Regions from separate parts of the Homo sapiens genome. Here all the other regions are linked to region 1. The links are contacts of gene promoters, found by promoter capture Hi-C in blood cells and fetal thymus (Javierre and others, 2016). All regions are on one chromosome and are shown on one strand. The core of a region is centred on a gene start or on the middle of the fragment in contact, and the rest is flanking DNA. Distances in the headings are between cores, read along the strand shown.

Region 1 (4,699 bases), core at 1,035-3,534:
AATTGCAAACATGAGTATCAGGAAAAGCCTTCTGAGCTTATGCTGGAACACAACAATATAAACGACTTGCTAGATTAGGGTCCAACTAGTTTATCAAAGCAGAGTAATTTAGACAACAATCTTTACGGATAGAGGCTCAGAGCAAAGGAATCAGAGGGGTGTGTGTGTGTGTGTGTGTGCACTTTCACATGAGGGTGAGAGGGAAGGATGCCAAGGAAGAGAAAAGAGTCCAACTAGACATTGTCTAGTTGAAAGATACAACATTTTGCAAGTTATATGCTGTACTTTCTGGCCTCTGTTTTTTTTTAAATCACTGACCTTGAATGTTTGTTAATAAAGTGATGCTAATTTTAAAATTTGTAAAAATAAATTATTATCATAATGGTACACAAATCTGTAGGATGAGGAACTTATAAATGACATTAATATCCTATAACAAGATAATGAGTGAGATAAAGGCAGTTTTACATTTTTCAGAGGACAACCGAAGAATGGGACTTTTATTAGAGTAACAAAGAAAAATGAAGCACTGACAACTGTAAATGACAGAAGTCAAATGTAATAATAGTTGAATATCAAAGAAAAAAATGATAGCCTAAAATAAGATATATTTCTGAGGATAGCAATTAAAAATATTTCCTATATAGCATAGACAGGAATTCCCTGAACTAAAGGAGATGGAAGACATGTATGGTTGTTTTAAGTCTGGGTACACTTTATTTTCTTCCTCTAGTCTGTGCGTTGTAAAGGCATACCTGTTGAAAAGGAAACTTTTGTTGGGTTACCCCTCCTGTCTTTTAAAGATGAGGGGGAAAAAGAAGCCTTTGCTGTTATGGATGCAGTTCTCAGAATCTCACTAGAGGGTGGTGTTGGTTCTAAAACCAGAGGTCACTGCTACTCTCTACAGTACATTCATTACTAGGCTGCATTTATGTTTAAAGAAAAGGCAAAGTCAAGCCTTCTCAGTATTCCCTAGTAGTTGATAAATGTCAAATCTGAAACCTCCCAAGTGCCCCTGCCAGTTCTGGCTGGTTGTAGCCCAGAGGAGACAGATAAAGTAGTGAAGAGATTATCGGAGGAGTTGGGTGGCTGATTCTAATTTTGGCTCCTGCACTAACTAGTAGACAAGACTCCCTGGGCCTTTGTCTCAACCGTAAAACAAAAATGATGTCCTAGTTGATCCCTAAATCCCCATATATCTCTAAAATTATGAGATTCAAACCAAATTGTTGGTCTAAAATGCTGAATAATTTCTCATGCTGTTAGCCAGACTAAGGAACAAGTAAAATCTCAAATTATTAAATTATTAATAAGATAAAATGTAATGTTATAAGTGAGGTTTAATATAGATTCTAATATCAAAGGAGTTTAAAATTAAAATGCCAAGTCTTTTGTCTTACCAGGGAGCCTTAGGACCATGGTTTGCATCTGAGCATTCTGTGGATAATTTCAGTGACTTAACTCATCATCCAAAGATCTCTCCCTTCTTGGTTGCTAGCTTACTGGAAATGAGCAAAATATGTTTTTATATAGGATTATATAGAGAAAGGAGGCTGAACCATTGTCAAATAGGAATGTTTTAGGATAGAGACTAAACTCCCCACCTGCATTTATCTGACTTGGATTATATCTGTGCTTTTTAAGAGTCAGTCTTCGGAGGGATTTAGTTGGTTCAGTTTCCTTTCACCCTCATCTCTTTCACTGACTCCCTTTCCTTGTTATATTTACTCACACTGCAGAATGACCTTAGAATCCTTTCCTGGAACCTGAAGCAAATTATGGAACCCCAAGATCCCAGTAAACCCTAGTTTATCTCTGCATGGACTTGACTTCTAAGAATTGGCCTGAGAGCCTGCAATTAACCTGTGACCACGCAAAGCTTCACCCCGTCACCCCAAACGCTTAGACATTCATACTCAATACCCACTTTCCTCCAAATTGCTTTGTTTGGCAGAAGAAGGTTTCTTTCTCCCCTCTCCTTCACCCAACCTGGATTTTTGTTGCATCTCAGGCTCATTTCGCAAATCTAAACTTCCTAAAATATACACGGAGCGCCTCCGGGTTTGCACACGCGCGCGCGCGGGTACACCCTGGCTCGAGTACATTAGCCCCGCTGGGCCGGCTCCCAGTTGCAGAACACATTCCATTCTTCGCGCTCGGGCACACCCCTCCGCAGTGAGGATTGGTCGGGCCGAGCCCCCTCGGCGAGGCGAGGCTCCTAAGAGGCCCAGACGCCTGCCAATCCCCAAGGGCTGTCAAAACAAGTCTCCCTCCCTGTCACAACAGAGCTGAGTGGAGGCCGCCGCCGCCGCCGCACTTCCTGGGACCGCTGCGCCGCAGTCCGCGGGCAGGTGGCGGGTGCGCCCGGCCGCAGTCGCCCGGCTCTGGCCCCTATCGGGCCGCCGGCGTCCGGGCTCCAGAGGCCGCCTGGCTGGGCGCCCGGTGCCTTTTGTCTGGCGCAGGGCCGGCGTTTGCATCACATTTCGGATACCTCCCTCTCTTTTTCGCCTCTCCTTCTGCCTCCCGCTCACATCGCCTCCCCACTCCCGCCACCGTCCCCCGCCGGACTGCTAGCCTCCTAGACCGAAGCCCGAGGACGTCTCTGCCCGAGCGATGTCCCCTCTCCAGAAAGTTGCCGCCGCCGCCGCCGCCGCCGCCACTGCCGCCGCTGGGCGGTGAAACAAAGTCTGGCGGGGCCGCCTCCCGGTGCAGGAGCGCACCGGTGCCTAGCGGCTGGACTCCGCTGCCGGGCGTCCCGCTTTCCCCCGGGGAGCCCTAAACGCTCCAGGCCATGGCCGAGGGCGCGGCCGGCAGGGAGGATCCGGCGCCGCCCGACGCGGCGGGGGGCGAAGACGACCCCCGAGTGGGCCCGGATGCCGCCGGGGACTGCGTGACGGCGGCCTCTGGGGGCCGGATGAGGGACCGTCGCAGCGGGGTCGCACTGCCAGGCGCCGCGGGGACCCCAGCGGACAGCGAGGCGGGCCTCCTGGAGGCAGCACGGGCGACCCCCCGGCGCAGCAGCATCATCAAGGTAAGCAAAGCCGCGCCGCACCGGGAGCGTGGCTGTGGGTGATGGGTGGGTCAGGGACCCGGGCAGGATGTGCGGTGTCCGGAGGCATCCGGGCTCAGCATTGTTTTCTCCCACCTCCTTCAACGCCAAACCTTCCTTCCTTATCCGGAGGTTCCCAGACTCAGCTGTCAGCCACGAGACGCACAAGTGACTTTTTCTCCCCACTGACGGCAGAGGAAAAGTTCCGCTCTGCGTCTTTGCGTTCTGATGGATGCTTTCCCTCATTTTCTCTGCAAGCTTCACTAAACCGTTGATGGAGGGAGGAAGGGAGAACTCTGGATAAATGCAGACCCACCGGATGGTTGTGCATTGCTTTCCAATGAAGGGTTAGCTTTTCCCATACAATGAAGAAAATGCACAGCTTACTCTCAAGTGTAAAAAAAGAATCCCTCTAGACTTAAATGATCCCGAAATCCCAAGATGTGTGAACTTTCCCGGTAGGGAGGCAGAGTTTTAAGTGGACCCTGCATCACAGTAAAGAGCAATGCAAGAGCCCAGAGTTTTTGCGCTGCAGAAAGCACAACCGGAAAGCAATCAATCCCCCAAGCATTATCACTGGTCCTTGTGGTTACCACCACATCCAGGGAAAACGCTTCCTGACCCGCTAATCACCTCACAGAATTTCTCTCCATCCATTTGGCAAGGAATTTGTAAACCTCTTTCCTCCCCTTTCTCTTTCCATCTTCCTTCCACTTGGGGCTTGTTTCTTCTGTTCGAGATTTCCTCTTTTGGGAGCATGACTTTGGGGTAAGGTTATTTAGGAAAGAACCCTCGCACAGGCTCTGGAAAAGGGCCTCAGTGTAAATGCATGTGAGTAATCAATCAAATGTATGTCAGATTAAAATTGATTTTGGTGGAGCAGTCAGTATAAAACGATATGTATGTATGTATATATGTAAGTATATATGTGTGTGTGTACATACACACACACACATCCCTCAATGACAATGAAAGATGGACTTTTACTTACTATTGAATTTATTGGGTTCACTAATATATTCAAAAGCTCTGTTCAGGGTTAAGCTGCGTAACCAGTGCATCACGCATGTTGCAAGCTCCCAGCACCAGCTTAGGTAGACTAACCACAGAATGTGGCTCCAGTAAAGTCTTTTTCCCAACACTGACACATGGAAGTTTAAAATCAGTGGAGAGGTTTCTATAATATATAAAGAAGAGTGGGTGGTAATTACAAATGGCTTGTAGTAGTTTCTGTTATTTTGTGGCTTTTTGATTATGTAACAGGAGTGTTCTATTCTGGGTGTGAATTTGGACAAAGGGAAATTACTATTTTGTTTTTAACCCACAGGTCAGAAAGCACACTGTTTTCAAACTTAAAAAACATCACAATTAGGAAACACATACATTTTGGATTCTACTGTATTGATACTACATGGTGTCCTGTGTGTGTAAAACAGGCACTGCAAGAGACTTTAAAATATATGACAATAAAGAGCAAACGGCTCTATAATGTTGTAAAAAACAAAAGTAATGGAGTATAAGGAATATACAAATTCTTGCAACTGAGTTTGCCACTTGTGAATTGTACTATGCTGGTTTATATTCTCAGAAGGGTCATTGCTGAGTAATGGTGCCTCTTTTGTTTTGAAGTTTCTTTTTGTGACAAAAAAG
Region 2 (4,699 bases), core at 1,341-3,840, 360 kb after region 1:
TGCTTTCTCCAAGCAGACCAAGGCAGCTCTGTTCCCAGTGCTTTATCACTGGGAGTTCCACATAAAGTTTTGCTTAGTAACAGCTTTCTGCTGCTGTTAAAAAAAATGAAGAAAGCACTAGATTAAATGCACCCCAAAACCCTTTCCAGACCCAACGCACCATAGACCCTGATTGGTTATGCTCTGGAGTCTGACTGCCCAAGGTCAAAGTCTCGCTTCACATCTTCTGGGCTATAAGAACTAGGACAAAATATTCCACCTGCTTTAGCCTCAATTTGATCTTAAAATTGGGTAATAATTTTATCTACCACATAGTTATTGTCTTAAATTATTAAAAACACACACACATGGTTCTTAGCACAGTGCCTGACACATAGTAAATACTTGATACTTATTAAAAAATATAGAAATGTCTAAAAAATAAATTCCTTTTGCCAGGTTAGATAGGGCATAGGTAAGTGATATAGTTACATCTATACATATTATATAGATTTTTAAACCATACAGCATTTTAAATATCAAATAAAAATATTTAGTAGCTGCATTTTAAGTAGAGCCTAGCAGAATAACAATTTATTAGGCGGAAATTGCCATTTTTACAGTTCAAAAGAGGCTGAAGACAGGCAATTCCTTTTTTTTAAACCTAATATCCAAAATGCAGCAACTTTTGGAAAAGGATGGACCTTCCTGAGGTACAGGCTGGTAGGGGTGCGGCCAATGACTCCCTACCCCTGTGAATGCAGAACTAAGCTACTTATTTCTTGGCGATGACCTCACAGTGTCCACGGACTGCTGATTAGGCCAACTTTCATCACTACTTCCAAACATGAGTTCCGTGATGAAGAACAGAGTTATATCAAGTCAGAATAACTTCCTGGTTCCATGTCTGTGGCAGCAAAACCAGTCAGCTTAATCCTTAGTATGCTTATTTGAAACCCAGATTAAGACAAAATGTGCATGAAGGTAGGCAATGGAGTGGCTACACTTGTACCTACAGGCCTCATGATTGTGTGAATTGCAAAGCTTAGTACTGCTTGTCTTGGGGAAGAGTTAGAGACATGAAAATGAGAAGTCTACTGGTATTTTCAGTGAGAATATTGTTATCCCATACATTATACTTCAAGGTTTAATGGGATTACAATTTAGGCAGTCTGTTGTTATTTTCTCTCATTTTGCTTTTTCACAGTTTATATAACAACTTAAAAGAACATTCAGATAGAAATTTTGTAATGCCTGAGTCACATAGAGACTACTTATATATTCCTTTCATCTTGAGTTTTTCCTTCTCTAGAATTTTACCAGGTAAATATATGAGCACAGGGTTGATGTCTAAAAGGAGTCCTTTCCACTTAGCTTATGTGGTCCCTGGAAATGTCACAGAATCTTTGGACTCATTCCCATGGCAACAGGCAACTCTATCACCAAGGACACTGCCAGCTTTTCTTAAGGTTTGCTCTATATTTGAGATTCAAAGCTATCTGCTTTAATAATATTTATTTTGGGATGCATTATGATGCACCGTGACTGCAGAAATGACTTATTTGTTATACACGCTTGAGATGGGAAGATAATCAATGCCTCTTCACTAAGGAAGCAAAATATGGATTATGTTTAAAGGGCTTTGCTATGCTGCATTATTGGAAGTTTTTGTACGGCTAGGCACTGGAATAAGCTAAAAGAATGGGGATAGATAGAAAATATCAAATTAGGCATTGCTAACTGGAACACACACACATACACACGTGCACGCACATACATACATGCACACCATCAACAGCAAAACAGTAGACATCATAGAATAATAAACAGCCACTGTGCATGCTCAAGCACTAAAGCAGAAGGGTTTATTTTCAGCCATCTTAACTGTGAAATTTGCCATGGAGATAAAAGCTGTATTCAGTGGTGTCTTGTCACCAAGTGTCTGTGCTGTTAGGGATATTAGCAAGGGTCACCAGGGTATGACTGTTTTTCTGCATCTGAGCCCTCATTCTTTTGTCCCATTTTTCTATGATGGGACATGAGGAGAGGAAATTATTGGTGACATCAGTAGATATGATCTATTAAAAGAAGCGTGTCTGGTGAAATGAAAACAAATTTGGAAGGCTACACAAGGGAGACTATGAAAAAAATTAGCAATGCCTCCCCCACTCACAGAGGATAGTTTGGGGTGGGACTTATATAGGTTTAGAAAGATCTCCAGGTAATTCCAATGTGTGACCAAGACTGATTAGCTTAATCACCTTAGAGATTATTAACATTTAACTTGGTAAATGTTTCTTTTTGCATCATATCACTCTGACATATGGGCCTACGTTCCAGTTTTAATCAAGATACACTAGGTTATTTTAAAACTTTCAAGGTATCCTTATCCATATCATCTCACTAAATTCTCAGAATCATCTCATTCTGAGAGGAATGTACTACTTTTTGCCAGAAAAAGAAGCACACATCGTGTAACTCAATGGCACAGTCACATTTGTGGCATACAATCTGATTCTGAAGCTGATATTTTACTATTCCCCACTGTCTTCATCAACGTCTATCAGATTATATTCTCAGAACCTGAGATTAGGTAAAAGGGGATGGCAGAAAGTGAAGGACAGGTTTGGGCATATTAAGGTTGACTGTTTCTCTATGCATTTCTTTCCTAAGGCTGCTGTACAAAGTACCCCAAATAGGGTGACTTAACACATTCTCTTGCAGTTCTGGAGGCCAGAAGTTTGAAATCAAGTCTCCCTGCAATCCTGGCATTCCTTGGCTTGTAGCTGACTCACTCTAGTCTCTGCTTTTGTCTTCATGTAGCCTTCTTTGCAGCTCTTCTATGTTTCTGCTGAAAACCTCTGTATTATTTCTTTTATGGAGACACTTGTCATTGGATTTAGGGCCCATCATAATCTGGGATGGATATCTCATCTAGAGATTCTAAACTAATTACACCTGCAAAGACTCTATTCCCAAATAAGGTCATAGTCTGAGGTTCCAGGTGGCCATGAATTTGGGTGGGGGGGGACACTATTGAACCCTCTATACTCTGCAGTTGAAATTTGGATCTACTAGTCACTCCTCAGTGAGGAAAGCAGTGCTTCTCTCTTGTGAGATTTGTACAGAATGGAAAAAAGGGGTGAGAACAGGTAACTGAGAGTCAGCCTTTCTGGGAGCCCTGGAAAAACCCAGGTAGGTTCTACAGGACATTCTTAGGAGATCTTCTGAAGGATTACAAAACTGTGGAAACCTTTTGCTCTCAAGGCAATTAGTCACTCATGTAGAGTGGCATAAGAAGGCTTGTCTTCCTATCTATGCTTGTTGGTTTAACAGGAATTACTGGGTACAGTATTTGCTTTTTTTTTTTTTACAAGCATTAAACAAAATTTGGGGGCACAGAGAAAAAGCCATGGACTCTGATCTGGAGGAGTTGACAACTTGGAGTGTGAGGTAACCTTATCTCCTACCAGAGGAGCTAAAAAGGCTTATGGGAATACCAGCTAGCTTGTCAGCTAATGACAAGAGTTCCTAATAAAAATAAATAATCCATGAAGGAAATGGGCAAAGACTTTGACCAGGCAAAGAGAACCAAAACCAGTGTCAAGGTACCCTGGGGATATCACACTGTACATTTGCAGAAGGTTCTTTCCACAAAGGATGGATCTGGGGCACATGGAGGGGAAGTGATGTCCCTTGTTCCCTGGAATGTAGCAAGCATTCAAAGGTGTTGGTGGGTGGGAAGAAATCTGTGACTATTCCCAGGAGGAGCTGCTTTATACAGACAGGTGTTTTCTGGGAGGTGATGGAGGTGGAGAAGGTGAAATTGCCTTGGTTAATTGGAAACACTGAGTCTTACACAGAATTTAATGCCCGCCGAAACTTATAGAGTATACGAGGTAGAATTTCACCTGTTGTCAATCAAGTTTAGGTAACCCATTGAAGTATGTTTTCTAGAGAGTTTCAGCAGCTTATGGGTGGTCTTGTAGGGCTTGAATGTGTACCAGTTGTGCCTGGGTCCAGTGATCTTTCTCCACTCTACTTGAAGAGAAGTGTGTGTGTAAACCATGATTCTTCCTCCTCAAAACCTCTTGCTTATTCAAGTTAAACCAAAGTTTTGCTTTCAAGAGATTTTAGAAAGAAAAGCCATAACTTAAGAATACATTTTTTTTTCCAGAAAAGCTTGTTCTTTTATTTCATTATTTGCAAGTAAAGCAAATACAGGACCTTAAAAGTCACTTGTAGCTAAGGAAACACCCTAACCTCACTATGTCTACCATGTTTCCCAAGGCGTCTTTCTTGGCCTTCCCGCCCCCTTATAATTCTCTACTTGGACTATACCCTGTGGCTTTCCTTGTGCCTATTCATTTGTGCACGTGTTCCTATTTGCCTATAATGGCATCCTGTTTTAAGATCCTTGTAGAGACTGAGACTAAATCAAATGAAACAGTTTAAGATAATGGTGTTAGTTCAAACAGTACAGGTTTTTCCACTGGTGCATTTAATTACCGTATTAGGATTCAGAGCTGGTGGTGAATACATTTTATTCCTAATTAAAATACACCCAGGGAAAGTGACATTGAAAGGATTTGACCCAATTCACTTTGGAAATCTTCTGTTGAGAAACCTTAGAAGACTCTCAGTGTTGAATATTCAGGGCCAGAGGTACTATATCAGTATTTTGTTTCTTTGCGTTTTTGTCTATGGGAATATCTATAGA
Region 3 (4,699 bases), core at 1,447-3,946, 340 kb after region 1:
AGGGAACACTTAAAAGTAATACTCTGAAAATGAAGGAGGATATAGTCTCATTACTAATAGATTTTTTATAAATGGAAAGATTCCTTTAAAAATATAGTAGTACATATACATTATACATATCTCTGTAAAACAGACTCTGGTAGATGCATTTTAAATGTTAGTCAAATTTTTAATAAAATATAGATAGTACCAAGATACTTATTATATATAGTAGCAGATAATGTTAACCACTTTCTAAATCACCTTATATCATTGTGATTCCTATACTTATGATCATTTAAATCATAAAGAGCTCTTCAACATATTGTCTTTAATCTTAGAACTGTAAGGAAGGCTGAAGGATATTTTCATCATTTTTGCAGAAGAGAAAATGGCCCAGATAAAAATTGGTTGAAGATGCTCCAACCCTCGTCCCTGCTAGTGTGTTCTTGCTCTGCCCTGTCTTCCTGATTCTGGATGCTATCTCTAAATTGTGTCAGGCTGTGTCACATGGGCAATGCTTTTCTTTTTATCTGCGTTGCTTCCATGGGTAACAATGAATAGGAGTCTCTAGGGTGCCCTGCAGAGAGTGCCTGCTTTGCTGTTAAAAGATGCCTATCAGGTAGTGGTTAAAACCACAGACCCCGGAGCCAGCTGCTGGATTTTAAGCTCCAGCTCTACCACTTAGCAGCTGTATGACTTTGGGAAGGGTGACTGTGCTCTGGGCCTCAGTTTTTTTAATCAGTAAATTGAGAATAATGAAAGTACCCATCTCATAGGGATGTTGTAATGAATGATTGAATGAACATGTATAAAGCACAAAGAGTGACCACACTGAGCAAGCACTTCATATGTTGGTCTGTTATTATTATTACTGAAGAGTTGCACTTTTCAAAGTGGATGTGACTTCACTTTTTTTTTTAAATTTATGTTCTGGGATACATGTGCAGAATGTGCAGTTTTGTTGAGCAGACTCATTCGTGATGTCTATAGTGTTAAGAACAGACTTCCCAAAGTCTGCTGGTGTAGTAAATATTTTTTCTTTAGAAAATACATCTCTCACTGACAGAGTCTTTAGGCTCTAATCTCTAGTCTTTAGTCTCAGACTAGATTGTAAACATGGTGTGGGGAATAGAGCATTGATGCAGGAGGCCAAAGGCCTGAACTTTAGTCCCAGCTCAGCGATTAACCAGCTGTGACCTTGGGACAGTCAATTAACCTCATCAGGCTCAGCTTCATTTCTCCTCAGGAGAAGGCAAAACTGTCCACCTCCAACTCTTCTTCCAAAATCCCATACCATAATTGATGTACTTGAGAAGAAGTTCGCTTTAACACAAACATCAGGCAAAGCCCAACTATTTAATCATCCCATATAATTAAAAGCTGCTATTAGAAGGATTTAGCTATTTTTTACAGAGGATAGAATTGGCAAGTGCATATTTAGGTTTTGAGAAATAAAATATTCCAAGCTTTTGTAAAATACAAGTTTCTTCATACACCCTAAGGAAAAAGCATTTACTGGCCTTTCATAAAATAGGTAAATTATCCTTTCTCTGAGCCTCTGCTTTGTAGAATAATGCTCCAGCAATCGTCATAACCCCATATCCACCCATATTGTCCTTTCAAGGTCACACTTTCAGGCACTGCCATGAGAATGGAGAGGAGAGGGAAGAAGCTACTTCTTCCTCTGTCTATGGGCCATAGACACCTGTCCCTGCTTCCCCACACTCAGTCATTCAGCCCTTGGGCCAGTATCAGTATACGCACTTTATCTTCATAACAGTGAACTAAAATAAGAAATAAAAATAGCAGGAAAAGATCTCTGTTGGGCACTGATGTAAATGACAGCTAATGTGTTCCTGCAATCCTCATTTCCTTTTTGTTTTGCCTCTGGAGACTCTTTTTCTCCATCTGCCAGGTGGGAACATCATCTTCAGGATGATGGAAAAGGCAGAAGTAATGTGGGTGACTGATAATTTAACAACAGGCAGATTGCAAGGATGACCCAGTATATTAAAAACCAGCTCACCAAGCATAAGGGTATGTGACTTACTTTACAGAAGACACTTTGCTTTGTAAGCTCTTGTACAGAGGGGGAGATTTTATTTTCACTTCTTTAAGGAAGAGCTTCTTTCCTTGTTTTCTCCCAAGACTAGGAATGCTGGATCTGGGCGGGGTAGGTATTGCAGCAGTGTGCAGAGTCTCAGACCATGGTGATGGAAGAGTTGATGTCCTCAGCACATAAAGAGGAGGATTCCTCACAATAGGAATCTCAACGGACTGCCAGCAATTGCATAGCCAGCTGGTCAGGCTCAGGTTGAGGTACTTGGCTTAACAAGCAAAGTCACTTAATAATGTTAGAAAAGAACCTTGGGTTAAACCCTGGAAAAGTGAGCTTGCAGGTCTGGGTCTGTTTCCTTATTCAGCAATGGGCAGTAAGAACATAGAGTGATGTCACTCAGCACATGCCTGGCCCATAACTGTCTTCTTTGATGCCTGTTTTTTTCTGTTTGTAGGGCCAAGGAGATCTGTTGAAGAATGCCAAGAATGAAGCTATAGAAAACATGAAGCAGATCCAGCTGGCATGCCTGTCCTGTGGACTGAGTAAAGCCCCCAGCAGCAGTGCTGAGGCCAAGAGCAAGCGCAGCCTGGAAGCCATAGAGGAGAAGGAAAGTAGTGAGGAGAATGGGAAGCTGTGACTCTGGGCATTATCGACACGTTCACCCATCTTATCAAGGACTCTGGTTTCTCATTCTTGTTTTCTTTCTTTAAATGTTTTATAAGTTCACAAAATGGTGCCCTATATGGGGTATTGGACATAGATATTTTCACAATGTCAGTATTTCAGTGTAGTTAATTTATCTAAATTAAAGCCTTTAGTATCAGTGTTTTAAATTCTGAGACATGTGTCAACACCCCTGTGTGGATGCCTGTGGAAGAGTGTGTGTGTGTGTGTGTGTGTGTGTGTGTGGCAGAGAGAGAGAAAGAGAGAGAGAGAGAGAAATTCTGTTAAAATCTATTCTGTGTTGCATTATTCATTTAGTGAGTTATTCCTTGATCATTTTGGGACAATTGTTTTAATCTGAAATTCTAAAGAGCACTTACTGTAACCTGTTGCTGTGTTTAATTTGACTTCTCTGCCTTTGACATTTAATTTAGTGATCTTAGCATAGCTTATTATTGAAGGAAGCCAAATTTATCAAAGCATAGATGTTTTGGTAGATTAAATATAGATTAGAAAAATTCCTAAGAATCAGAGTAGAAATAAAAGTGAATGAAAGATTAAACAGATGATGAGAATTTCTAAAAAGATTAGCAAGGTCATTTCTTCAGTCAGAAAACTTTAAAAAATATTTATTAAATAAAATCAATTTTTAGGAAGTTTTCTGTAGTCATTTACTAAACATATGATTTCACTAGAAAAGCTGATCATAAGTGAATTTATACCTACCTGTGTGGTACTCTGAAACACACTGAAAGCTCTGTTGCAATTAGGATTTTGATGTGACAATAATATTGTTGTATAATTTCGAGATTTGTAGGAAGGTCTCATTCTTCCAAGCTGAGAGTCTAGCACTCATTTTCTATAACAGATATGGCAGCTTAGAGGTGTTGGCTTTGTTTGGATGTAATTTAGGGTACTAAATTTAAATTTAAAGATATTGTTCAAACAATATCATATCATCACATTGAGCTGATATAAATTCTGTGGGTCCGATAATATCTTTGTGATAATTTAAGAGCTAACCAGTTACCACACATCTATGATATAACCCTAACACACACAGAAAAGCATACATGCAAAAAGAAATGACTAATTAGGGTACATTTATAATTGCATCTAGGTAATTTTTACCCTAATGTCTTCATAAAGTACTTGAGTGTAATGTTTGTTACCTCCAACAGAACTAAATGTTCTATGGTTATGAAAGAATATATTTATTTAAAGCATTGCTTTTATTTTGAAAAGCTTCTTAATTAATTTGATTAACAAATATGCTAATTTGGGGAAACCTAGAGAAGATAATTGTTGAAATTTTGCAAATATAAACATCTCCTATAGCTTCTGTGTTATTTCTGACTTCTTAACACTATTATGTTTATGTTGCACATTACTGAAAGAGTAAAGATATGAAAAAAACACTTATTGTTTTCTTTTATTGTGAATTGAAAAAGCAAAGCTAATGAAAATGGGTTACTACATCAAAAATATCTTAAAGAGTTTGCTATTTCCATGGACCAGATATGATGAAATTATTCCCTGGGTTTAAAACTGGGCACTCGAGGAGGAGGTACCTGAAGTCATTTGAAGGCAAGTTTCCAATGATGCTACAATGGCCTGAAAAAATTTCTTTACCCTCTGTTATATTTAACTTGCTGGTAGGAGGAATAGTGGAATGCAGGTGTTAAGCCCTTTGTGGTGAAAAAGAGGTTCTATAGACAGAAACAAAACCCACCTTACATCAGCTGATTGGTTGATTTTACTAGTGTACCTCTTCATCTACTTGAATTCTATTTGGTAAATCCATGTCTTTACTGGATATACAGTTAGGTGGGAAGAGGAGATAAAGGATGACAAACTCTCAAACAATATTTATACATTTATTTACTCCAGGGTCAAATCCAATCCTTGGAAGTAGCTTCTCTAGTTTATTTTATTTGTCCCAGAGCTCTACTCACACTTAGGACCCACCCAAAAATTCTCAAAAACGTAATATGG
Region 4 (4,699 bases), core at 1,294-3,793, 330 kb after region 1:
GAATAATCATAAATGCATAATGATAACATTTTCCACATGCTAAATCATGCTAATGACCCCTACCAAGTAGAGGAAAGAATGTTGTCTTATAATACCAACAGATTATTTAAACCTGAGAGCTTTACATCATGTTAGATTAAGTTGTGTATATTAAAATTTTCCAAACAGTAAGTATAAAGATACTGTCTTATACATATAAGAGGTATGGCTATTTTAACATATTTTTTAAATTATATGAAATAAACTTTATTGGACATAGTTTTACGTTACCATTTTTTCTCTCTTTCACCAAATTGTGAAAGCAAATAGCTAGATATGCTTTCTCCCTTTGAAGAGGCATGACAGTTTCAGGTTTTGCTAAGAAAGATAGTTTCCATCTGAAAATGTGTGTACATAGTGTTTACTTCTAATTTAAATGCCTATTTACACAGGTTGGGGATACACCAATGTTTTTTGATGATGTGGTAAGTTTTCAAAATCTATTTGAGGTCATTTTTATATGCTTAGAATGACTTAGGTGCAAATCTACATGGAAGCAGAGGAATAAACCACATGGTTTTAGAAGCCATTTCTGATCATTGGAGCACAAGCTTTTTGTGGACAGCAGGCACTCCCTACCTAAGTCCAAAGCAGGGGAGCCACCTGCTGGACAGTGTGAAAAATCTTCATTTTCTGGAGGTAGTCATCCCTGCTTTTTTACTTTTAAGTTTAGGTAGATTTACTTACATATAAATTTATGTACTTTTTATTTTGCTGAGTAAATTTCTCACTTCACACAAATAAAGCGGCTCTAAAATAAGGAGAAAAAAATTAGGATGCTATGAAACACAAATTTGAACAACGATCAGTACTAGAAGTAGAGGCTTTTAGTCATTCCATTTTGTATTTTGTCTTTTTCCTTTCATTCGTAGTTCAGCCTAACTGCATTTATATTGTAAACCAAAAATAAAATTCTAAGCCCCTTAACCGACTGAATGGACCTGTCCTATGGGGACAAGGGGATTCCAAAAAATTCCAAAAAGCTAGTTCAGGCCATGATGGGAACCTGATGGTGTAACCACCCAGTTGGGTTCACCTTTCATGCTACCTAGAAAGAGCTGATTCATCTAGACAGGGGAATCGCAATAGAGAAAGAATAATTCGCACAGAGCCAGCTGTGCGGGAATCTGGAGTTTTATTATTGCTCCAATCTGTCTCCCCAGGATCAGAGTTTTTAAAGACAATTTGTGGGAGGGGAGGGGCAGTGAGTCAGGGACTGCTGATTGGCTGGGTCGGAGATGAAATTATGGAGAGGAAATCATGGGGCGTTACTGTCTTCTTGCGCTTAGTCCGTTCCTGGGTGGGCATCACAGGATCAGATGGGCCAATTTCTTGATATGGTGGTGCCAGTTGATCCGTCAAGTGCAGGGTCTGCAAAACTTCTCAAGTACTGATCTTAGGAGCAGTTTAGGGAGGGTCAGAATCTTGTAGCCTCCAGCTGCATGACTCCTAAACCATAATTTCTAATCTTGTGGCTACTGTTAGTAGTCAAGAAGGAGGTTTATTTTAGGAAAGGGATGTTATTGTTCTTGTTTTAAACCATAAACTATAAGTTCTTCCCAAAGTTAGTTCAGCCTATGCCCAGCTTGGAGGTTAGAGGCAAGATGGAGTCATTTAAGTTGGATCTCTTTCACTGTCTCAGTCATAATTTTGCAAAGGCAGTTTCAATGGTAAAAGGGAATTGGATACGCTGCATTATACTTTCCTCCCTTTGGAATTCAGGCTGAACTGATCGGCCTTAAAATTAAAACAGAGATCTTAAGACACAGTAGGCTCTTTGTAGCAATAAGATACCAAATTCCAACCTGACTCCAGTATAGCATCACATGACAGATAGCAGGCCCTGAGAAAAATCAAGTATTTTACCCCAAAATATATTTCTTTGACATATTTTTAAATGGCCCTGCAAAGCTATCTCTTGTGGGGGAAATTTACCTCCTTTAGAGAAGCCCCTTCCCTTTCCAGGTCTTTTTCTGATCCTGAAGAGTTTAGCTGAGAGTCTGGTACCTTTTAAAGGTATGAATAGGAAGCATTTGCCATCTATTGCCTCTAAGGATGGCCACCTATAAGACTTCATCTACATAATAAGACCGTTGGTCTCCAACAACACCCCTTATCTTTGCCCAGACACTCCTTTCTATTGATTCCAGGTTTTTTAGATAATAACTTAAACCCTTCAACCAATTGCCAATCAGAAAAATCTTTGAATCCACCTATGACCTGTAAGTCTCCTGCTTCGAGTTGTTCTGCCTTTCCCTACCAAACCATGATTGATGTCTTATGTCCTCCTAAAATTTAAAATATCAAACTGTAACCCAACCTCCTTGGCCACATGTTCTCAGGACCTCCTGAGGCTGTGTCACAGGTCATGGTCCTCACATTTGGCTCAGAATAAATCTCTTCAAATATTTTACAGAATTTGGCTTGCTTTTTTCATCAACAATATGTATACAAACGGGCTTTTCTAAAGGACTTTCAGCCCTCCTTCAGCTCATCTCCTTCCTCTTTCTATCTCCTCGCCTACATAGTCAAACTTCTTAACAGGGTTGTTTATACTTGCCGAATCCACTTCCTTACCTCCCACTCACTTCTTAGCCAACTTTAATCTTTCTTCTTCCCCGACACTCCATTAAATCATTCTCACCAAGGTCACCAATAACCACCTTGTCACAAAATCTCATGGACACTTTTCCAGTTTTTATCTTTTTTGACTAGTTGGGAACATTCTACGTGGCTAAGCACTCCCTACTTTTTATTTTTTTTAATTTTTTTGAGACAGGGTCTTGCTCTGTCACCCAGGCTGGACTGTGGTGGCATGATCATGGCTCACTGCAGCCTCAACCTGCTGGGCTCAAGCAATCCTCCTGCTTCAGCCTCCCAAGTAGCTGGGACTACATGCACATGCCACCACACCCTGCTAATTTTATGTTTTGTAGAGATAGAATATTGTGATATTTCCCAGGCTGACTCCCCACTTCTTGCAACACTGCTTCTCTTGATTTCTGGGACACCACCCCCTTCTCTCTTCTTCCTACATCTCTGACTCTTTCTTCCCAGAATCGTTTGCAGGTTCCCTTTCCTCTGCTATTCTGTTAAATGCTGGTATTTCTTAGGGTTCTAGCTTAGGCTATCTTCTCACTCCACCTTCTGTCCCTGGGGGACACAGTTCATGCAAAGGGTTTTGATTATCTTCACCATGCTGTCAAATCTCAAGTGTGTATTTTTGGCCCAGGTGTCACTCTCTTTATCTCTTGATGATCCCTGCTCATCCTCCCATATAGTTTATATATCAAATTACCTCCCAGGCATTGTACCTGGGAGGTCACTCAGCCACAGCAAGGTCGGCATGTCTCCAGCTGTGCTTATCCCTATCCATATGTCCTGCTTATCCTCAGTGACACCTCTGGAATTCCTGCTTGAATGAATAAATGACAACTCAGAGTTATCCAAACCTAAATCCTGGGGGTTATCCTTGATCCTTTTCTTAACTCTCCACCTCTAATTGGTTAGCAAGCACCGTTGGGTCAACCTCCTTAATACCTCCCTAGGAAACTTCCATTCCCATAGCCGTCACCTTAGTTATCTTCATTTATCACCTGAGTTAGTGAAAAGTCATTTCTCCTCTATCCTTTTCCCACTCCATAGCATAGAGCTGGAGTGATCTTTTTGAATGTAAAGCTGGTCATGGCCATTCTCCCTTCCTAAAGCCCTTCCAGGGCTTCCCACAGCTCCTTCTTAACTTCTCTTCTGAAACTCATTGTGGCCTGTCTTCTCAGCTCCCCTCCTTCCCCTCCAGCTTCGTCTCTCATTGCCTTCTTCTTCCATGCACTACTCCAGCCACATGGAACTTTCTCCACTTCCTCAGTGGCACCAGGGATGCTTTCATGCTGAGTAGTCACATGGACTGTCCCTTCTTCCTTGAAAGTGTGTAACCCTGCTTGTACCCCTGCTCCCTGGGAGCCCCCATCCTGTTGTTTTCACACTGCATGGGGCACTGTTATCTGTACTTCAGGTGTTTGCTCAGGTACGGAGTCTTCAGGATGCCTTCATGGACACCTCACCTTCTCCTGCCTCCCATCTTCAACAGAGTTAGGTATCCCTGTACGTATTCCCACAGAACTCTGCTATTCCACTATCATAGCACTTTAATTGCTTTTTTATCTTTCACGAGACAGTCTCTATTATTGTAAGCAATTAGGTGATGAATTTTAACATAGCAATTTTAACCTGAGCCCCAATTAATAAACAGTAGACATTTAGCATATGAGGTCAAATCAAAGAACGTCTCGTCAAATCCCCATGTTTTGGAGAAAAGGAAACTGCTGCCCACAGGAGTTAGGGACATTTCCAAAGTCACAAAGTCAATTCATAACTTATTAATCATTCTTCCCACTGCAGACATCAGCCATAACCCCTATTCTTTCTATCCTTTTGACTGATTCTGGTTTTCTCTGCAAGAAGCTTGAAAGCCTTAGCCAGGACATGGTTTAAACTCTATTTTGCCTTGGTTATCAAGCAATCAAATGGTGTGGTTAAAATTGTAGCAAGCCTGTCATTTCTCATTTAAAATAAAACGGGACTCATTCAGGCTTCTTGAAGTGAGACTGCATGTGACGATGCAGGGAACACATCTCCTAGAAAGAAGAGGAGCCACTGAATG
Region 5 (4,138 bases), core at 1,627-4,126, 310 kb before region 1:
GAAGGGGAATTTACGTTATGGTAGTTTTCATGAAGTACTGGTTCTTTGCTCTTTTCCGATTCATTATTTGACTACATTGTTTTGAAGAATATGATACATAAAACTATTCTTGTAACAAAAAGTTTAAAAATGCTGACTTCATTACAAACTGACAAAACTTATGCACCTTTGACAATGGCTAAGAACATTTTCACAATCATATGAATCCATTTTACAGCCATGTAGAACTAAAATGACAACCACATGTAGAACTAAATGACAACCATTATGGTCATAATTCTTTTCAAAGGTTTTAGCAGTAAGAAACAATGATTCTAATATTGATGATTGGGTAGTATTGTTATTCTGACATTGGTGTGATCAAGGGAAAAAAAAAATCACACATGCCATTAAATTTTTTTTAAAAAACGTGTAACATGTTAAGTCCTTACCTGTGCAATTTCTTCAGGGGTGGTCACAGGTTTAGACTGCTTTTTAAGTTCAGCAATTACAGCATCAACAGCTAACATCACACCTAGTTCAACGATATATGTCATTACAATGTTTATTTCTCTCATGGCTTCTATGTCAAGTAGAAATCTTGAGATTTGTGACAAATATTTTAATGCCTTAACTTAAAAAAAAAAATTTTTTTTTTTTTTGAGACAGGGTCTTGTTCTGCTGCCCAGGCTAGAGTGCAGTAGCACAGATCATGGCTCACTGCAGCCCTGACATCCTGGGCTCAAGGGAGTAGCTGAGACCACAGGCTCAAGCCACCATGCTCAGCTTCTTTTATTTTTGTAGACAAGGTCTCACTATGTTGCCCAAGGTGGTCTTGAACTCCTGGGCTCAAGCAATCCTCCCACCTCAGCTTCCCATGTAGCTGGGACTACAGGCATGTACCTATGCTTGGTCTTTAGTGCCTTAATATTAAATTTACACACAGCTTCTGAGACAGTGCTTCTTAATAACACAGAGTTGCGTGGCATGTACTTAAACAGTAACTTTAGGTTCACACAGTAAATAAAATCTCACAATGCCAAAATTTTGAAAATAGGACTAAAACAAGGTAGATGTGTGTAGTTTCAAAAGTCTCACCACTGAACTCATCCTATGCAAATTCCTAACCCAATCATGCTGTTTCCAATAGGGTCCACGACACTTCTCATGTCCATTAGATGATGCAAAAAAGGACCAAAATGGCTAACACTCCCTTATTTTCAACAAGAAGTACAGTTCTTAAATGATAGGAATCTGTTGTGACTATGCCTCTGCAGGTGTCAATTATCTGAAATCCCCTCAATTTAGTACGTATTATGAACTAACAAAATATTTTTGTTTTACATCAGTCTTAATAGTCCCATTTTGCTCAATTGGGAATAGTGCTAGCTCTCTTGTTTGAGAACTGTTACTTCAAAAAAAATCCAATGCAAGGTGCTGGTAAGTCCTCTTCATAACCTTAATTAATACTTGTTAGTGATTTACAGTAAAACTGCTTTTAGTGAAGTATATTCACTTGGCCCATAAACACTGAAATAGATGAGGTAATGATACATTAGTAATGTAGTAATAAATTAGTATGCCAATTCTGACAAAAAATTACCAATAGCTCCCCCCACCTTCACTTACAAGAGGGTTCCTGGTTTGAACCCTAACATACCCTAGATATACATAGCAATTCTGCTGATAGGAAAACCAAGTCTTAGCACACAGCTAATAAATGACAAACATGGGACTAGAATTTAAGTCTATACTGCCATGAACCTCATGAGGAGGAGCAAATTGTTAATTAAGTTGCACTCTAGTTACAAGCACTAACAAAACACAAACCAATAACATGGTGTGTGCTATTAAGAAAAAATAAACTGAGGAAAACATTACTTTCTGACATTCTGAATGATCCAGTGTATTTAGTCTTACTTTCTACAAAACTAAACTAAAAATTAGCCAGGAATGGTGGTGAGTGCCTGTAGTAGTCCCAGCTACTTGGAGGCTGAGGCAGGAGGATTGCTTGAGCCCAGGAGTTCCAGTGCAGTCCAGCCTGGGCTACAGAGCAAGACCCTGTCTCTAAAAACAAAAGAAACCAACTAAGTAAAATATCAAAATTACCTAACAGTACCTACCCACCATACAGCCAAGCTTGCTAAAGGAAAACCCAGTTTAAGATTTCTCCAGGCCAAGAGGAGGAATGAGAGAAGGATTAATTTCCTCAAGTTAACACTTTCCTTAGGTCCAAGGAATCAATGCCTTAAAGCACACTGAAGTTTAGAACACTGTGGTGACAACAGACATTCCTACCTCTCCTGATTTCCACTGGATTAGCACCTTTGCTAATCTTCTCGAAGCCTTCCTTGGCTATAGAGCGTGCCAGTACAGTAGCAGTGGTAGTGCCATCCCCAGCTTCTTCATTTGTGTTATTGGCAACATCTTGAACAAGTTTAGCTCCAATGTTTTTGTATTTATCTTTTAAGTCAATTGACTTTGCAACAGTCACACCATCTTTTGTTACTTTGGGACTTCCCCAACTCTGCTCAATAATCACTGTTCTTCCCTAGAAGAAAAAAATGTAACAGGATCAGACATACCCTAAGGATGATTTACATTTTTAAAAATGAGCAGTCTTCATAATAAAGCAACTACTTCAAAGTCTCAACGTAAGTTGTGTCATTTTTATCAGTCTTGCAGCATGAACCTCAAGGGCAAGTTTATCGACATTCTTTGTCTACAGACAAAATGACCTGATTCTCTGCCAAGAGCATAATTTTGAACTAGGTAATTTAGGAGATTAAAATCCTAGGGACTAAAACTTGTCATCTTATAAAATGAACAAGAACACAAGACAAAGAATAAAACAATCTTCCTATCACTTATACTTTAGTTAGTGCCTGTTATCTTTTAAAGTAATGTGACTTGTTTTAAAATCCGTTTAACTAAAATATTAACCATCAAGGCAAGTAGCGTGCTCTTCCAGGTTCACGCAACATAAAACTTCAACCATGGCACAATTATTGGCCATCCTTTGGATTTGAACTAAAGCTGCTACTTTCTATTTGTGAGGTGTGCAAATGTTGTATTTTAGGCAGTTGTTGGATCACTTGATATCTGAACTGTCTTCAAACTGAAATGAAGCACCACTTGACTGCACACCACCTTCAAAGGCCTCCTCAAAACATTACCCCTATTAAATGAGACTTATTTTAAATATGCTTTGGAACAAGAGAACAGCAGAAAACCGATGGGTAAAACTAGCATCTTGGGGTGGAGGAGAGAATGGGAAGCTACTGTCTAATGAGTACAAAGTTACAATTTTTCCATATAAAAAGTTTTGGAGATGGATGGTGGTGATGACTGCACAACATAAATGTAATTGATGTCCCCAAAGTGCACACTTAATGGTAATTTTATGTTGTGTACATTTTACTACAATAAACCAAAAAAAAATTTAGCATCTACAAGCACATACCTAAGGAATTATGGAAGATAAGTTAAACTCTTCTCTCTACACTTGGCATGAACTACTGGGAAAGGATCCAAATTTTAACTTAAGCCAGCGAAATTCTACCTCGAGTTTAAGAATCCACCTTGAGCTGTAAGTTACTACCTGATTACATCACACATTGAACAAAATAGTTTCGAAAATCTGGCTGAAGCAGTTTAAGCTTTAAGATCATGTCTAAGAAAAAAAGGCTAACCAATACTTCAGAATTCTTACATGTAAACTGAGTTCTCTCAAAAATGGAGATGAAAGTACTGTTGAATAGTTCAGTGCGACTATTTGTGAGTAAAATGCTATTAATAATACCGTAATTACAATAAAATAAAAATACTGGTACCTTTGGCCCCATTGTAACGGCCACAGCATCGGCTAAAAGGTCTACACCTTGAAGCATTAAGGCTCGGGCATCTGCACCAAATTTTACATCTTTGGCATAAGCCCGAGTGAGATGAGGAGCCAGTACCCTGGACACCGGTCTCATCTGGCGAAAGACTGTGGGTAACCGAAGCATTTCTGGGGATGGAAGCAAAAAGATCATCAGAACTACCACCCGTGGTGCGCTGCAGAACAAACATGCCCACCTGTGCAACAGAGCAAGCAACGTGAGATGCTGAGCCTGGCTGACCTCCGCCAGCCACTACGCCTGAATGACGGAAGGCGCCG
Region 6 (4,699 bases), core at 1,136-3,635, 270 kb after region 1:
TATTGAAGCACATTGGGTATTTCCTTTTCAGTTTTAAATATGCTTAATTCAAATTTAGATGATTAAAGAATATATTTGGACTCCAAAGTGACTAAAATCAATGAAAATAATATATTGGTGTGTCATAGTTGGGGGTAAATATTACCATTAAAAACTGAAAAGTCGAGAATGGTGTGAACCTGGGAGGCGGAGCTTGCAGTGAGCCGAGATCGAGCCACTGCACTCCAGCCTGAGCGACAGAGCGAGACTCCGTCTCAAAAACAAACAACAAACAAACAAAAAAACCCCTGAAAAGTCGCAAGGAAGGAAAAACGATTCTGTGAACTCACTACATAGGACACAAAGAGAGGTGGGAAATTTTGTCAGGAATGTTCGTGACATGAACTCTATTTAATAATGTCTTATTCCCGTTGATATTTTAATTTTTCAGATAAAGTATTTTAAGTAAATGTGCAACATTAATTAGAATAAAATATAAAAGTATGCGTCTATTTGAAGGCCTACCTAATTACATATAATTTTCTGATGAATGCCCTAATTAAGCATCAAGTTATATGTTTATACCTGTGAAATAATTGGAGCATTACATTTAATCTTTATAACAATACATTGAAAGAGAAGTATTAGCCATGTAGGTATTAAAGGTATACATTTAGCTAGACTTCATCATTGACTTTCCTTTTAAAGGGACATGACATCCTGTTTTCCATCAAGAGAACATCGAATTAATCCTCACACCAGAAACAACAGTCAGTGCTGGCATAAGCTCCGCCAGGATTCCTGGGCCCTGCTGTGCAGGGGTCTCCTGAGGAAGGACAGAATCGTATCTCGGTCTCCAAGCCCACTTGGTTCTTGGCACTTCTGCTAAGAGTTGCGCAGGCTACCTATTAATTTTAAATGTATTGTTTTTGAGGATGAGGCAGACATCTGTCTTAGAGGGACAGGACTGATAGCCGCAAGTCGTTCCTCAGAGGCTGCTGAATAAATCGTCAGATGACCTTTATTGTTGTCACCCTCATTTTGTTCAAATTGACGCAGCTAAAGCACAGTATTAACAAAACTACGCATTGCATGCAGCAGTGGGATTAGTGAAAAGGACCATGTTGTTGACTAGAGAAATGGAAGTTCACGTATCTCATAACTGCGTACGAAGCAGTGGACTGGGAAGGATACAAGAGGAGAATGACAAGATTAAAATAAGAGACAAGGCCTTTACATGAAAGCAGCTGACACTACAAAGGACGTAGTACTTCTGTTTAATAGGCCTCATCAGCCTTTTATGCTCCCTTGTGGGCTTGGCTCATGAACATCTTTAATGTTATTTAAAGCTGTTTTTATTGTTTATTTAGAAACATTCTTTATACATTTTGCTCTAATTATTAAATTTGATGATCTTTGTTCTTATTTACTGATTTAATTAGCTACAAACATTCATACATTAAAATTTATTCCGGACAACATTAGTGTTGGGATTAATGATTTTTTAAAGAACAAATCACTTGTACAATGCATAGCCCAGAGTAGGGGCTCAGTCAATCTTTGTGTAAATGGAAGTTGTATTTGAAATAATCCATTGGATGTGTATAATAAGAATCATTCTTGCAGAAAAACCCTAACTGGATGGAAACTATACAGAAGAAGAGCTTGAGATAATCACTTTTATTTAGATTGTCCCTTCTTAATGAGTTCTAATGAGCAAATGATTGCAGTGAGGTACAGCACAGTGGAAGCTTCTTCTGTTTACAAAAACAAATCAATGGTACTAACTACCCACTCTGAAATGGACTCTTTTTTTTTTCTCAGCACTCTATCACTAGCTTTGCCTGTAGAACATCAATTATTTTTGCTTCCAAGTGAAGAGAGTCATTTCAGAGAAGATGTGTAAAATTTAGAGGGTCACTGGCTGCCCATATTTTAATTAGTATCCCATCCCCACCACAGCGTATATATCAGTGTGGGTTTCCTAAAGGAGATGGCTTTAGTGCGTTTTATTAAATGAATCACCTTTTATAAATAAAATTTAATGGTAAATTCAGACATAGAACTTAATTTGGCTAGAGAAACTTGCATGCATACACTTAGCATTGCCTTTAATTAATTCTGTTGACTTAGAAGATGGTGTAGACAATAAATGCTTTTTTTATTGATCATAAAATAACTGTTCAGATCCTTACCAATAAGGGACCCACTAGGGAAGGCCAGTGGTTTACTTGGGTTATGCTTCAGCTACTTCTCAATAGTGGCCATTAGGACCTCCACTCCCACTGCATCACAGTGACCCTGGGTAAGTCACATGGTATTAACCATAAATAAGTGCATCACCTGTTTGTGTCTCTGCATTAAGTAACTGGAGTTGACCATGGGAATAAAACTTGGGAAAATTTAACGTGAAATTAATGGTATAATTCTATAGTTGCAGACTTCCCTTTTCTGAAACTTGAAGGCAACAGATACAGTGATGATCCCATCTCTCCCACCATCTTGAATTTTGTGTGAACTGTTAGGCCTTGTGTATGGGTAAGGGTTTTCTCCAGAACACTTAACTGCCAAACATGGATGTGATTTTGAGCATAGGCCCATTGGAAAGGCAAAATGTATGCATCAGAACTGAATTCCATTCTGTGATCACAATCCAGGTTAGTGGAGCCAACATTTTTGAGGATAGCCCTCTCCTGGATTTATTACTCTCTGCCTCTGCCTGTTATTCGGTCTCATTTGGGGCCACTTTATCTCACTTAGTATATGGTAGTAGCCATCCTGGCTGTCTTTCCCACTGAAGGACTTTTGTTCCTTCCCTGGAACCCTTTACTCTCAGTCTTGTCATGGCAGCAGTTTGGGTCTCATTTCGTTCTCTATCCTAGGCATCTTAAAAGGAACACCATCATGGCACATGTATACATATGTAACAAACCTGCACGTTGTGCACATGTACCCTAAAACTTAAAGTATAATAATAAAAAATAATAATAATTTAAAAAAAAAGGAACATAAGACATTCTCTTGCCCAAGTTAGCAGTAACTGCTTAACTGCTGAATTCAGTAAGCTTATCTTCAGATCTTAATTTCCAACACGCTTTCCTTTTAGTCTTGGCTTCTGTGGAAGCTCATTCTCCTGGTTTTCTTACCCCTCAGCTCTTCTTTTCTTTTAGGTCTTCTCTCCTGCCCAGCCTCTAAATACTGGTGTTCCTCTGGGTTTAGCTCATCTCTAACTGCTTTTATTTAATAGGTGACTGTACTATGCTCAAGGTTCTATTTATCCCTTTACGGGTATAACTTCCAACACTGAAACTGCAGCCCAGACTTCTCCCTGGAGGTTTGACTCATATATCCAACTTTCCATTGGGCAACTTCACCTAGATGGCCCATAGTCATGTAAAATCCACCATGGCCCAAAGTAAACTTAGTTTCCACTTCAACTTCACTTCCCCTGATATTTCATACCTCATTTAGTAATATTTCCACTCACTTCTCACTCAAACCAAAAACCTAGAAGTCATCCTTTACTCAGTCAAGAAGTTGTTTTACCTCATGTTTCTTGATATTTCCCACTCTTCTTCATCCTTTTTATTAGGAACCTACCTAATCCCTTCATCCTTTTTATTAGGAATCCTTTTTATTAGGATACCTTCCTAATCTACCTAATACCTTCATCCTTTTTATTAGGAATCTAGCTCAGGCCATCACTATCTCTTTATTGTAATGCTGAATGAAATAGTCATCTAATGTACCATCTTCAGTTTTGTCCGTATCAAATCCCTTTAGCACATATGCAGAGTGATATATCTAAGATAAAAATGAAACCTTATCAGTTTCCTCCAAACTCTGTAATGTGCTAGACTTTGTCACAGAGTAGGTACCTATTCTTGTTTGTCAAATGAATAAATGAAGAATAAGACCAGAGGCTTCTCAGTATCCAAGGTTGGAGTTATCTGGATTCTAGATTGTATATTGTCTACCATCCTTTGAGAATGTCATGTATCAACCAAATTTTTGTTTCTCAGTTTTGCTTGGAACTTCACAAAACCAGAATGAATAGCATATTTTTATAGTGTATAGGTTGTATATATGAACAGATAGGGTCTGTATGGTGAAAATCAAACCTATGTGCCTATATGCTTATCTTTTAGTATAATCTATTAAATTTTTATTAATAATTTCTTAAGAGAACTTTTCAAATATAAATCTTTCCCTCCCTTACACTATGTAGCTGGAGTTCAGTGTTATGAAACAAAGATTCCTTCTCATCACAGTTTGACAACTGGTGTTTTGATTTCTAGTCTTTAGAGTTGTGTAAATTTGTTCTAACAAAGAATCATTTTAGAACTGTTTGCTTAAAAAAAACTTGCCAAAACACCAAAAAGTATATGTGATGATATAATTAGATATTTAAATATGCTCATGAGGTCAAAGGCAGGGAAGCTTGGGCTTGGTATTTCCTTTACTCACTTTTAAATTTTTGTACAATGCTTCAGTGTGCATTTTTTCCCTGTGTGTTAAAATATACATAACATAAAAGTTACAATTTAACCATTTTTAAGTGTGTAAGTACACTTAAGTACATAACCATTTCTAAGTGTATAAGCATTAGGTAGATTCACATTTTTTGTGCAATTTCAGTATACTTTTTCCTGAATTTATATTGAAATAATTTGATATTTTCATGATTGAGATCCAAAACTTGTATTGAATAAGTAGAGTT

What was found. The method cuts DNA at HindIII sites, captures the fragments that hold promoters and counts their contacts. A CHiCAGO score of 5 or more calls a contact.
Region 2: a fragment that was not itself captured here is called in contact with the fragment with the promoter of PLCL1 in region 1 in 7 of 17 cell types (M1 macrophages, M0 macrophages, M2 macrophages and 4 more); the score reaches 13.0 in M1 macrophages.
Region 3: a contact is called between a fragment that was not itself captured here and the fragment with the promoter of PLCL1 in region 1, in 15 of 17 cell types (M1 macrophages, M0 macrophages, fetal thymus and 12 more). The highest score is 15.4, in M1 macrophages.
Region 4: a fragment that was not itself captured here is called in contact with the fragment with the promoter of PLCL1 in region 1 in 15 of 17 cell types (M2 macrophages, monocytes, naive CD8 T cells and 12 more); the score reaches 69.5 in M2 macrophages.
Region 5: a contact is called between a fragment that was not itself captured here and the fragment with the promoter of PLCL1 in region 1, in 1 of 17 cell types (fetal thymus). The highest score is 6.0, in fetal thymus.
Region 6: a fragment that was not itself captured here is called in contact with the fragment with the promoter of PLCL1 in region 1 in 11 of 17 cell types (activated CD4 T cells, naive CD4 T cells, non-activated CD4 T cells and 8 more); the score reaches 13.4 in activated CD4 T cells.

What each region holds. Positions count from the first base shown.
Region 1 is chr2:197,802,309-197,807,007 of GRCh38, forward strand. PLCL1 (phospholipase C like 1 (inactive)) reads left to right here and starts at 2,285. Exons shown (of 6, transcript NM_006226.4): 1 at 2,285-3,031. The coding sequence starts at 2,792. LOC105373828 (a long non-coding RNA gene) reads right to left here and starts at 2,238. Exons shown (of 4, transcript XR_001739850.3): 1 at 1,401-2,238. RefSeq lists a silencer at 2,332-2,461. The HindIII fragment of the contact is 1,428 bases long and covers 1,878-3,305 here.
Region 2 is chr2:198,166,122-198,170,820 of GRCh38, forward strand. No RefSeq gene overlaps it. Among named protein-coding and RNA genes, the nearest start is that of LINC01923, 210 kb to the right of the region's middle. The HindIII fragment of the contact is 3,138 bases long and covers 1,022-4,159 here.
Region 3 is chr2:198,144,285-198,148,983 of GRCh38, forward strand. PLCL1 (phospholipase C like 1 (inactive)) reads left to right here. Exons shown (of 6, transcript NM_006226.4): 6 at 2,496-4,699. The coding sequence ends at 2,678. Among named protein-coding and RNA genes, the nearest start is that of LINC01923, 230 kb to the right of the region's middle. The HindIII fragment of the contact is 2,501 bases long and covers 1,447-3,947 here.
Region 4 is chr2:198,127,202-198,131,900 of GRCh38, forward strand. All of the region lies in intron 5 of PLCL1 (phospholipase C like 1 (inactive)), which reads left to right. Among named protein-coding and RNA genes, the nearest start is that of LINC01923, 250 kb to the right of the region's middle. The HindIII fragment of the contact is 3,910 bases long and covers 589-4,498 here.
Region 5 is chr2:197,494,863-197,499,000 of GRCh38, forward strand. It overlaps HSPD1 (heat shock protein family D (Hsp60) member 1), which reads right to left. Exons shown (of 12, transcript NM_002156.5): 2 at 3,813-3,988; 3 at 2,278-2,530; 4 at 432-514. The coding sequence starts at 3,986. Among named protein-coding and RNA genes, the nearest start is that of HSPD1, 2.9 kb to the right of the region's middle. The HindIII fragment of the contact is 1,520 bases long and covers 2,117-3,636 here.
Region 6 is chr2:198,074,383-198,079,081 of GRCh38, forward strand. The region is part of intron 1 of PLCL1 (phospholipase C like 1 (inactive)); the gene reads left to right. Among named protein-coding and RNA genes, the nearest start is that of PLCL1, 270 kb to the left of the region's middle. The HindIII fragment of the contact is 1,314 bases long and covers 1,729-3,042 here.